Linked DNA regions of Homo sapiens: all the other regions are linked to region 1. The links are contacts of gene promoters, found by promoter capture Hi-C in blood cells and fetal thymus (Javierre and others, 2016). All regions are on one chromosome and are shown on one strand. Each heading gives the region's core, a stretch centred on a gene start or on the middle of the fragment in contact. The rest is flanking DNA. Distances are from core to core; before and after follow the strand shown. Region 1 holds the start of IL6ST (interleukin 6 cytokine family signal transducer). Region 2 overlaps GPBP1 (GC-rich promoter binding protein 1). Region 3 overlaps GPBP1 (GC-rich promoter binding protein 1).

Region 1 (3,838 bases), core at 639-3,138:
ATATATGTTGTGATACTAAAATATTTCAGAAGTGTTGACCGAGTAGACATTCAATAATGATTATAGCTGATACTTACAGAGCACCTACTATGTGCCAAACACTGTATGTATTTTAACTCATTTAATCCTTGCAACAATCCTGTTAGGTTGGTATTGTTATTCTCATTTTGCAGATGAAGAAATTTGAAAAGACTTGCCCAAGGTCACAGAGATGAGAAATAGAGGCATCAGCATTTAAACCTAGGCAATCTAGAACCAGAGGGTACATTTAACCACTATACATCTCCCCTAAATACATCTTTGCATCACACCTGTTATCTCAGCACTTTGGGAGGCCACTAAGGCCGGAGGATCGTTTGTTGCCAGCAGTTCAAGACCAGCCGGGTCAGCATACCAAAATCTTGTCTCTCCAAAAATTTTAAAAATTGGCCAGGTATTGTAGGGGCACCTGTAGTCTGAGATACTTGGGAGGTTGAGGTGGGAGGATCGCTAGAGCCCAGGAATTTGAACGTGCGGTGAGCATGATCCAGCCACTGCACTCCAGCCTGGGTGACAGAGTGAGACTGTGAACAACAACAAAAAAATCAAGTTTCCTGGATCTATACAAAATTTTCAATTTAACAAATTTTTATAAAAATTTGTTTTAAAATAAACACCCCTCTAAATGGCAAAGCTAGAACAGAATCTGGTCACAATCTATAGGTTAGATATAGGATGACAGGGAGGAGCAAGAGCTGAACACATCAGCTGCAGCACCATCTACTTTGCCTGCGACTCCGTTAGCAGGCCCACTTTGCCCTTTTATAAATTATCTGATCAACAACTAAGAGATTAAAATTCGATCTATGTTTTACTCTATCTGAATCCTCAATATAATGAAGAACTTTATAATTGTTAATTTATGGATATAATTTAAGTTCATTAAACCATTATTTCCTTCCTATATCCTCTCATTCTTCCACAAAAACCTCTACCTTTGGGTGTTTACTTTTACAGACACCCACGCACACACCCCACACGCACGCACGCACATGCCTTATCTTTTAACTCAAGATTCTCATCTTCCTTTGGGGAGAAACAAACATCATGAGCCTTGAGGTCCATTTTCTGAGGGAAAGGGGGGGGCGGAGGCGGGATGAATAGGTTTTTACCCGGTATTTTTTATCATAAACGGGGAGGTACAAACCGCAAAGAAACACTAGTCGCTTGGTGGGCCACCACCTCTGGGGCTCACTGATCAATCGCACCCAAACTCATTTACTAATTTAAAAAAGTACTGTGGCAAGGCTCGTTTACGTAAGTCTTGGAGAGAAGCCGCCGCCACAATCTGCCGCAGTCTCGTGCGGAGTCACGGCCACCGAGCTCTTCACTTTCCCCAAGAGGCTCCCACGCCTTCCCCATCCCCAAGGGAGCTAGGCGGTCCCTCGCGGCTCTGAGTCCCTCGGGGAAGGCCGCGAAGAGAGGCCGCAGGCGCCCTGGCGAGAAGGGAGGGCGGGGGCAGCGGGCGGCGGGCAGCACCCGGGCTCCAGTTCATGACCCCGTTATTCCACAGAAAAATGGAACATTCCGCTCTTTCCGCCCACAGAGGGGAGGTGGGGGGAACCCTTCGATCTAGTCTGGGAGAGGCGACGCGGACGCAGCCACCGGAATCCGGGACGCGAAGAGCCGCGTTACGGGAATCGCTACCCCTCGGAGTCCCGCCCCCTCGTCGACAGGCGGCCACTGGACCAATGCCTGGGCGCAAAGGGTCTCTCAGGGGCCAATCAGCGCCTAGGTCCCGGTAGGGGGCGGGGCGCAGCGTTGGCCGGCCGGGGGCGCAGCTGGGCGGGATTGGGGAGCGCCCCGCCCCGCCGCGGGACTGGGGTGGCGCGCTACCTCTGCGGAGAAGGATCTGACAGTGTTCCGGAGCCGGGGCGAGCAGCCAAAAGGCCCGCGGAGTCGCGCTGGGCCGCCCCGGCGCAGCTGAACCGGGGGCCGCGCCTGCCAGGCCGACGGGTCTGGCCCAGCCTGGCGCCAAGGGGTTCGTGCGCTGTGGAGACGCGGAGGGTCGAGGCGGCGCGGCCTGAGGTGAGGAGGGGCCGGGTGCTGGGTCGCGTAGCTGGAGTTAGAGTGTCGGTGGTTTCGGACGGGCTATCTGGCACTCGAGGAGACCTCCCTTCCCCCTGAGAGCAGCGCCCGGAACTTGTCAGCCCAGCCTGGAAATCCCCACATTCCTTCCCCTTCCTGCTCCCGGACCTCCGAATTCTACTTCCACAACTTTGTCACCTCGATTATCGCAGCCCTGAGTACAAACTTCACCCAGGCGCACGCACGCACCCCTCTTAACGCCCGCCCCGCAGAACGCCCTTCAAGAACAAACCCCCCTTTTTGTTACCAGATCCCACGTTTTTCCCAATCCCCTTTTCATCTCCCCTGAAATTCTATTCGCTCCGCACTTGTCTTCATTCTCGAGGTGGATTTCCCTTCCCCAAAGCCGTTTTTTCATCTTGAAATCGTAACGTTTCAGCTTTGTTGAAAGTTCACAATGCTTATAAACACTATTAACGTTTCTTTCCTTCTTTTGATCTTTTCTATTAATAATTATCATTCCTAACGAATTCCACATCTCACTGTATCCCAAGGAGAACAAATCAGTTTTTAAAATTTTACCTCCTCCGACCTAAACTTTTGAAGATAGTGCAGGAAGCAAGGGTCTGTTCTTCAGTGGATGAACAGCATTTTATTTCATAATCCGAAACTGAAAAAAAAAAAAAATCACAGGTTAAAAATAAGACGTCACCTTTTTTTTTTTTTTTTTTTTTTGCCTTCAGAAGGAAACGCATTTTGGCTTAGTTTGTGAAGTATTTCAACAATTATACTGCCTTAAAATAACTAGTTATTAGAATGCCAGGGTGAATTTTCTGAAAGATTGTGGTATTTGCTTTTGACAGTGCTGTAAACAAACCCTTTAAACTGTGTATGACTGCCAGCTTCAAGTTGGAACAACTCTTAATTTGAAATTACGGACTCAGATCATCAGTTTAGCTGTGTGCCATTATGTTAATTTCTTAAATTCATGTTAATTCCTATTTGGAAGTATTTTTGAACTATGAACTGAAATATTACATTTATAGAACCAACTTGCTATTAAATTGTGCTTTCCAACTATTTCTCTTTAGGGATAATCTTGAACGTTTGTTTTTAATCTTGAGTGAAAGAAAAAAATTACAGGAAGGAGAAAGTGTCAAAAAGGACAGACTGTAGTGGGATTTTTTTCTTATTTTAAGTATGTATTGACAATACCAGTTTAATTTTCTCACAGGCAATTTAGATTATTATAAATACTGCTGCCACCTAATTTAATATAATATAGTCTTACGTAACTAAAAATGTTGTTCTCACTCTTATTTGTGAATTGCAGTATTTTCAATTTATTTAAATTTGTTTCCAAGGCTTTGCACTTCAGTTCAGTGTTAGGGCGAAAGTTAAATACATGTGAAGTAGGTGTTAAAATGTCCCCTTTATAGAGAAGGAAACAGGAGTCTCGCTGAAAACTAGATCTGTGTGACTCCAAATCCTGTGCTCTGAATCATTTTGTCATGTTGACACGTTTCTCATAAAAACCCCAGTGCCACAATTTGGTTTGGGAACTTAAGGGCAACCCATAAATCCTCTACAGTGGCAGGGAGGGATTCCCCGCTCCCTCCTTTCAGAGCTGCTCATTTTAATGGGAGTCAGAATTCTCTGGCCCTAATACATTTGCAGCTTGGCTCCTAGAGAAGCATGGAATGTTCTCACAGCTTCTCCGTTTCTTTGATTGCAAAGGCAGAATGATCAGAGTTGAGGTTCCTATTGTGCT
Region 2 (3,838 bases), core at 489-2,988, 1.2 Mb before region 1:
CATGGCTAACAGAGACTTCTAGTTCAATGTGGCTAAGCACACAAGTTTATCTTCTTCTAGATTCTTATATTAAAATTACTGTAAGGGAGGAAACCAAACACAACTATATAAAATAGGAGTAGAGTCATCAGCAAGAAAATGATTTCAACACACAGTTCTAGAGAAGTAAATAAAAAGTTTCAATTTAGAGTGTACACAAAGGAACCTAACAGCTGAGGAGGACCTAATCTACCACATAGAGCCTCAAAGGGATCAGGACTTGAAAATGCCAGATATGGTAGAAGGCAGAAATGCAACTTTGATAAAAATAGAATAATTCAAAAGATCCTTACTAATTCTAAAGAATGTACTTTAGGCAGAAGGAAAATGATCCAATGTGGAAAGCTGAAGATATAAGAAGAAATAAAAATTTTTATAAATATGAAGGTATCAGATCCAGGAAGTAGGCTGGGTGTGGTGGCTCATGCCTGTAATCCCAGCACTTTGGGAGACCAGGGTGGGAGGACCGCTTGAGTCCAGGAGTCCAAGACCAGCCTGGGCAATATAGTGAAACTTTGTCTCTACAAAAAAAAATTTTTTCAATTAGCCAGACACAGTGATGTGCACCTGTAGTCTTAGCTACTTGGGGGGCTGACATAGGAGAATCCCTTGAGCCCAGGTTGAGGCTGTAGTGAGCTGTGATGGCACAACTGTACTCCAGTCTGGGCCACAGAGTGGGACCCTGTCTCAAAACAAAAACAAGGAAGCAGAAGACATGAAAACTAGATAGGCAAGTAGATATACTATCTTTAAGCCTCAATATAGTTTCTGAGTACAAATTTCACCTTTCCTAAAGCTGGATTCCTAGATGCCTAGGAGTAAGAAATATTCTGGCTAGTTCCTCAATGAGGTCTTCAGTACAAAGAATGATGAAATATTCTATAAAGAAGGAAAGTGAAACCTAAGAAATCATTCACAGAAGAGTAGGTAGCAGAGTAAGAGATGACAAAAGTCCCTGAAGAAAGAGGATAGGGACTGAGAGGAAAGGGGAGGGATATACCGTTATTGTGCTTATTAAGAATTCGTATTAGGCCAGGCACGGTGCCTCATGCCTATAATCCCAGCACTTTGGGAAGCCGAGGCAGGTGGATCACGAGGTCAGGAGTTCAAGACCAGCCTGGCCAATATGGTGAAACCCCATCTCTACTAAAAATACAAAAATTAGCCAGGTATGGTGGCAGGCGCCTGTAATCCCAGCTACTCGGGAGACTGAGGCAGAGAACTGCTTGAACCCGGGAGGTGGAGGTTGCAGTGAGCCAAGATCACACCACCGCACTCCAGCCTGGGCGACAGAGTGACACTCCATCTCAAAAAAAAGAAAAAAACAAAAAAAGTAATTCATATTAGGCCGGGCGCAGTGGCTCACGCCTGTAATCCCAACACTTTGGGAGGCTGAGGCGGACGGATCACAAGGTTAGGAGTTTGAGACCAGCCTGGCCAACATGGTGAAACCCTGTCTTTACTAAAAATACAAAAAGTTAGCCAGGTGTGGTGGCAGGCCTCTCTAATCCCGGCTACTCGGGAGGCCGAGGCAGAAGAATCACTTGAACCCGGGAGGCAGAGGTTGCAGTGAGATGAGATCACACCACTGCACTCCAGCCAGGGCGACAGTGTGAGACTCCATTTAAAATAATAATAATTCATATTTAGGCCAGGCATGGTGGCTCAAACCTGTAATTCCAGCACTTTCGGAGGCCAAGGTGGGATGGATCACTTGAGCCCAGGAGTTCAAGACCAGGCTGGGCAACATAATGAGACATCATCTCCATGAAAAATTTAAAAATGAGGCAGGAAGATCGCTTGAGCCTAGGAGGCTGGGGCTGCAATGAGCCATGATCGCACCACTGCACTCATGCCTGGGGGAGAGGGCAAGACTCTGACTCAAAAACTGCAAAAAGAATTCACATTTAAATATTACAGAAGAATGTGTACTTTTGTACCAGATTTATCAGAATTTGAATACTAGCTCCAACCTTACCAGTTGTATAATCTTATATAAGTTACTTAATCTCTCACCTATAAAATGAAAAACAATAGCTCTTGTCTGGGATTTACTGTGGAATGTTTCATATTCAAATAATTATTAGAAAACAATACAGAAAAGCCATACACTGTCACTAGCATAGGATTCCAATTACAATTCAAATTAAAGGTGTCCTTTTGCAAGAATTTCAGGTTGCTTAACCTGCAATTAGATATCAGAGGGAAAAAAGAATTTTAGGTTGACTGGTAAGAGTAAGAAAAAGAAAAACTTTAAGATAGACATGATAAAACCAATCTATGTCCTGTGTAACAACTCTGAATAATCGACATAAACCTGCTCATTTAAGAAAAAGAAGTGTTCTTAATGGTAACAATAACCTGTAAGTAATGGAAGAAGGGATGTGGGACTAAAAGGCAAGAATTAATTTGCATCATGTATCCCCATTTTATATTATTTAAAAATTGGCTCATCTATTCACAGATTTTCTCCACAAATTCTCCTAGGAAAACCTTGCCAAGTATTTAAGCTCTTAGAGTCAAACATTATCCAATGTTTACTTTCTGACTTGGTTAATTATATGAAGAAGACCCCAAATGTTTACATTTTAAAAGAGAAAACTTATATATTGATGACAGACCTTAATACCTATATAAAATGAGAAAGTAAGTGACTATCTTCTATAAGTTTCATGTGCTTATTACATCAACCTCACCTACACAGGTATTCTCATGTTCAAATTTCAGAACAACTGAAGGCAAATGTGACCTTTGGATTTTCTTAACATTATTTCCCTCTATCCTCGCAAATAAATGTAGCCTGACAATAACTGACCTTTTTATTTTTATTTTTGTAGAGACAAGGTTCACTATGCTGCCCAGGCTGGTCTCAAACTCTTGGCTTCAACTGATCTTCCCACCTCGGCCTCCCAAAGTGCTAGGATTACAGGCCTGGACCACCAATCCTGGCCCTATAATTGACTTTAAATATTAAATATCACTTTTATTGTCTTGTTATTCATGCTCTTCCCATACCTATGAATGTAAGAATTAGTTTTCTTCTATAAATGCAGTGATGACGGGGAACTGGCCCAATTCTCAGGAAGACAAATTAGAACAAAAATACTGCCACATATAATACAAAGTAAATTGGCCACACAGATAATTCAGAGTTGACATTTCAATTCCTCACCTCTTTCCTTTCACTACACTCTCCATATAGCTACCTTCTACATACATGAAGTTTCTGACTCAATCACTACATTTAACTACTTCATTCTTTGGCCCACTACCTAGAAATTCATTTTTGCCTTCTAACAAAGCTACAACTAGAATCTCCTTCATTTATTGGATTTGAACAACATAATTAGCTGACATTTATTAAACACCTGTGACATGACCAAATATTTTTACATAGTAGACAATTTAACCTTAACAATGCCTTTTTTTTTTTTTTAAATGGGAGACAGAGTTTCGCTCTTGTTGCCCAGGCTGGAGTGCAATGGCGCGATTTCAGCTCACCACAACCTCCGCCTGCCTCAGCCTCCCGAGTAGCTGGAATTACAGGCATGTGCCACCACACCCAGCTAAATTTGTATTTTTAGTAGTGACAGGGTTTCTCCATGTTGGTCAGGCTGGTCTTGAACTCCCAACCTCAGGTGATCCACCTGCCTCAGCCTCCCAAAGTGCTGGGATTACAGGTGTGAGAGCCACCACTCCCGGCCCAACAGTGCTTTTCTCATTATAATTTTTGTGGTCATCCTCACCTCACAGATGAATAAATTCACTCAGATTAAGCAATGTGCCCAAAATCTAAATA
Region 3 (3,838 bases), core at 851-3,350, 1.2 Mb before region 1:
AAAGTTACGTAATGGCCGAGCACGACGGCTCACGCCTGTAATCCCAGCACTTTGGGAGGCCGAGGTGGGCAGATCACCTGAGGTTGGGAGTTTGACCAACAAGGAGAAACCTCGTCTCTACTAAAAATACAAAATTAGCCGGGCGTGGTGGTGCATGCCTGTAATCCCAGCTACTCAGGAGGCTGAGGCAGGAGAATTGCTTGAACCCGGGAGGCGGAGGTTGCAGTGAGCAGAGATCGCGCCATTGCACTCCAGCCTGGGCAAGGAGGAAACTCCATCTCCAACAACAACAACAACAACAACAACAAAATCCCCGGAGGCAAACCACTAAAATCACCTATTCATTTCTGCAATGTCTTTATATTAACTTTAATTTAAATCTAGTTCTTAAAGTATGGGCCTGGTGTGGAGGCTCACACCTGTAATCCCAGCACTCTGGGAAGTGAAGTGGGAGGCTCCCTTGAGCCCAGGAGATTGAGGCCGGCCTTGGCAACATGGTAAGACTCCCGTCTCTACAAAAAATTTTAAAAACCGGCTGAGTGTGGTGGTCCATGCCTGTAGTCCCAGCTACTACGGAGACTGAGGGAAGAAGACTGCTTGAGACCAGAAGTTTGAGGCTGCAGTGAGCTATGACGCCACTGTACTCCAGCCCAGGTGACAGAGAAGATCCTATCTCAAAAAAAGAAGTTAACTCATGTTCTGAAAAAAGATTTAAAAAAAAAAAAAGGCAGTATTGTTATGGCTATGGCAGTTACACAAGTATATAAAGGCTAATTAAAGTTTCACAAGTTCCACACCACTCATCTTAACTGCATTGTGCCATCTGATTTTGTCTCTTCTTCCTTTCCCTGTGTATGTTATGGGTTGAACTGTGTCCCCCCAACCAACAAGATTTGTATGTTGAAGTCATAGCCCCCAATACCTCAAATGTAGCAATATTTGAAGATAAGGTCTTTAAAGAAGTGATTAACTGCAAATGAGGCAATTAGAGTGGGTTCTATTCCCATCAGACTGTGCCCTTATAAGAAATTTGGACACATGCACAGATAAAAGGACCATGTGAAGAGGCAGCAAGCAGGCAGTCATTTACAAGCCAAAGAGAGAGGTCTCAGAGGCAACCAACCCTCTGCTGATGCCTCTACCCTGAACTTAGAACCTCCAAAACTGAGAAAATAAATGTCTGTTGTTTAAGCCACCCAGTCTGTGGTATTTGGTTATGGCAGCCCTAGTAAACTACAAACAACTTTAGAAATAGACCAACTAAAATGTTTATGTATTAAATATTTCCTTTACACATACACAACAACCAGGTACATACAGGAGACAACTACCCTCCCCCTCAAAAAAGGCAAATCAACAGTCCTACTAACAACTCAGGAGTCAGGATTCCACAGCTTATTAGAAATCTTCTACTGGCCCCCCAATACTAAATTTGACTGGCTTAAAAAAATTTTTTTTAAGAAATCTACTGGATTCTGTCATATCTGAAGGTCCCATGTGGACATAAAGAGTTTAAGATACACAAATACTGCTAGTATGAAAACCCTAATTTTTTTCTCTGTCACCCAATTTACAATTTATTCACGACATCCATGAAGAATAAAAATTTCCCCGGGAGAAAGCTGGTTCTGAAAAAAATAAAACCTAAGTGTACATCTTTAAGTGCACATGCCTGACTTTTAATTTTTAAAAAAAGATTATTCTTCAGACTGAAAAAGAATACACTTTGGCAAAAAATACAAATAGATGAGACTTTTTTCTCTTTCTTGTTATGTTTTATTTCTGACCCTACCAAATTTGTGCCACGTTTTCAAAGAAAAACTTACTCAAATTGATTTCATCAGAATAACAAACTTACTGTCTTTATAATGATTTCAGAAAACTTTAAAATAAGCTTTAAAATCACAAAGACCATCAAAAACACCCAAAATCAACCAATAGCTAAGGAATTCTAACTACAACCAAAGTACTGAGTAAAAATCCTCAATGAAATACCAGTAAACCAAATCTAGCAGCATATTAAAAGGATTAAACACCATACAAAGTAGTATTTTCCCAGGAATGCAAGAGTGACTCAACATACAAAAATCAATCAATAATACACCACATTAATAACATGAAAGAAAAATACCAAACGATCATCTTAATTGATGCAGAAAAAGCATTTGACAAAATCTAGCACCCTTTAATTATAAAAATACTCAACAAACTAGAAACAAGAAGGAAACTTGCTCAACCTGATAAACAGCATCTATTAAAAAAAACCACAGCACATCATCCTCAATGGTGAAAGACTGAAAGCTTTCCCCTTAAGATCAGGAACAAGACAAGAATGCCCTGCTTTCACAAGCTCTATTCAACACTGTAGTAGACGTTCTAACCATAGCAACTAGGCAAGAAAAGAAATGAAAGGCATCCTGAGCCACCACAGTGCAAAGCACCTGTAGTCCCAGATACTTGGGAGCCTGGGAAGGGAGAAGTGCTAGAGCCCCACAGTTTGAGGCTGTAGAGTGCTATAATGGCACCTGTGAAAAGCACTACACTCCAGCCTGGGGAACATAGTGAGACAGTGTCGTATTTTTTTAAATGGCATCCAAATTGGGAAGGAAAAAGTAAAATTATTCCTATTCACAGATTACATGATCTTACATAAATTCTAAAGAGTCCAGAAAAAATATGTATTAGAGCTAATTAAATTCAGGAACGCTGCCAAGATAGAAGATCAACACACAAAAACAGCTGTTTGTGTATACACTATTAACAATCCAAAAAAGAAATTAGGAAAACAACTCAATTCGCAGTAAAATCCAAAAGCATAAAATACCTATAATAAATAAATATAACCAAGAAAATGTTAAGACTTGCACACCAAAAACTATTAAGACAGTGCTGAAAGAAATGTTAAAAGACCTAAACAGAAAGACATCCCTGGCCCAGCACAGTGGCTCAAGCCTGTAATCCCAGCACTTTGGGAGGCCCAGGCAGGTGGATCACATGAGGTCAAGAGTTTGAGACCAGGCTGGCCAACATGGTGAAACCCCATCTCTGCTAAAATAAAGTATTAGCTGGGCATGGAGGCAGGCACCTGTAATCCCAGCTACTTGGAAGGCTGAGGTAGGAGAATCGCTTGAACCCAGGAGGCAGAGGTTGCAGTGAGCCGAGATCACGCCATTGCACTCCAGCCTGGACGACGGGGTGAGACTCTGTCTCAAAAAAAAAAAAAAAAAAAGAAAAACAAAAGACAGATATCCCTGTGTTTGAGGACTGGGAAACTCAACACTGTTAAGACAACAACACTACCCAAACATGATCTACAGATTCAACGTAATCTCTATTAAAATTCCAACACCCGGCCAGGCTACAGTGGTTCACGCCTATAATCCCAGCACTGTGGGAGGACAAGGTGAGCAGATCACTTGAGCTCAGTGGCTCAGGACCAGCCTGGGCAACATGGTGAACCCCGTCCCTACTAAAAATAAAAAAATCAGCCAGGCATGGTGGCTCGTACCTGTGGTCCCAGCTACTTGGGACACTGAGGCGGAAGGATTGCTTGAGCCCGGGAAGTGGAGGTTGCAGTGAGCCAAGATCACACCACTGCACTCCAGCCTGAGCAACAAAATGAGACTCTATTGATATGGAGGGAGGCAAGGAAGTGCTGGGAAGAAAAGGGCATGGTCCCTGGCTAGGGCTCCAATCCCCTGAGAAAGAGTAAGACCCTACTGATACAGAAGTGTGCAGGCAAGCGCTGGGAAGGGAAGGGCATGGTCCCTCGCGAGGGCTCCATCCCCGGTTCTGTGCCCACGGATCTAGGTGAGGACAGGCATTTCTGTTTTCCTGA

The links. The method cuts DNA at HindIII sites, captures the fragments that hold promoters and counts their contacts. A CHiCAGO score of 5 or more calls a contact.
Region 2: a fragment that was not itself captured here is called in contact with the fragment with the promoter of IL6ST in region 1 in 1 of 17 cell types (total B cells); the score reaches 6.5 in total B cells.
Region 3: a contact is called between a fragment that was not itself captured here and the fragment with the promoter of IL6ST in region 1, in 1 of 17 cell types (naive B cells). The highest score is 5.9, in naive B cells.

Annotation. Positions count from the first base shown.
Region 1 is chr5:55,993,013-55,996,850 of GRCh38, reverse strand. IL6ST (interleukin 6 cytokine family signal transducer) reads left to right here and starts at 1,888. Exons shown (of 17, transcript NM_002184.4): 1 at 1,888-2,067. It overlaps IL6ST-DT (IL6ST divergent transcript), which reads right to left and starts at 1,684. Exons shown (of 2, transcript NR_102755.1): 1 at 1,297-1,684. RefSeq lists an enhancer at 1,335-1,846, cis regulatory regions at 1,435-2,108, 802-3,120 and a silencer at 1,678-2,157. The HindIII fragment of the contact is 8,053 bases long and covers 1-3,838 here.
Region 2 is chr5:57,240,596-57,244,433 of GRCh38, reverse strand. The region is part of intron 6 of GPBP1 (GC-rich promoter binding protein 1); the gene reads right to left. Among named protein-coding and RNA genes, the nearest start is that of GPBP1, 68 kb to the right of the region's middle. The HindIII fragment of the contact is 5,442 bases long and covers 1-3,838 here.
Region 3 is chr5:57,208,047-57,211,884 of GRCh38, reverse strand. The region is part of intron 2 of GPBP1 (GC-rich promoter binding protein 1); the gene reads right to left. Among named protein-coding and RNA genes, the nearest start is that of GPBP1, 36 kb to the right of the region's middle. RefSeq lists a silencer at 104-269. The HindIII fragment of the contact is 407 bases long and covers 1,897-2,303 here.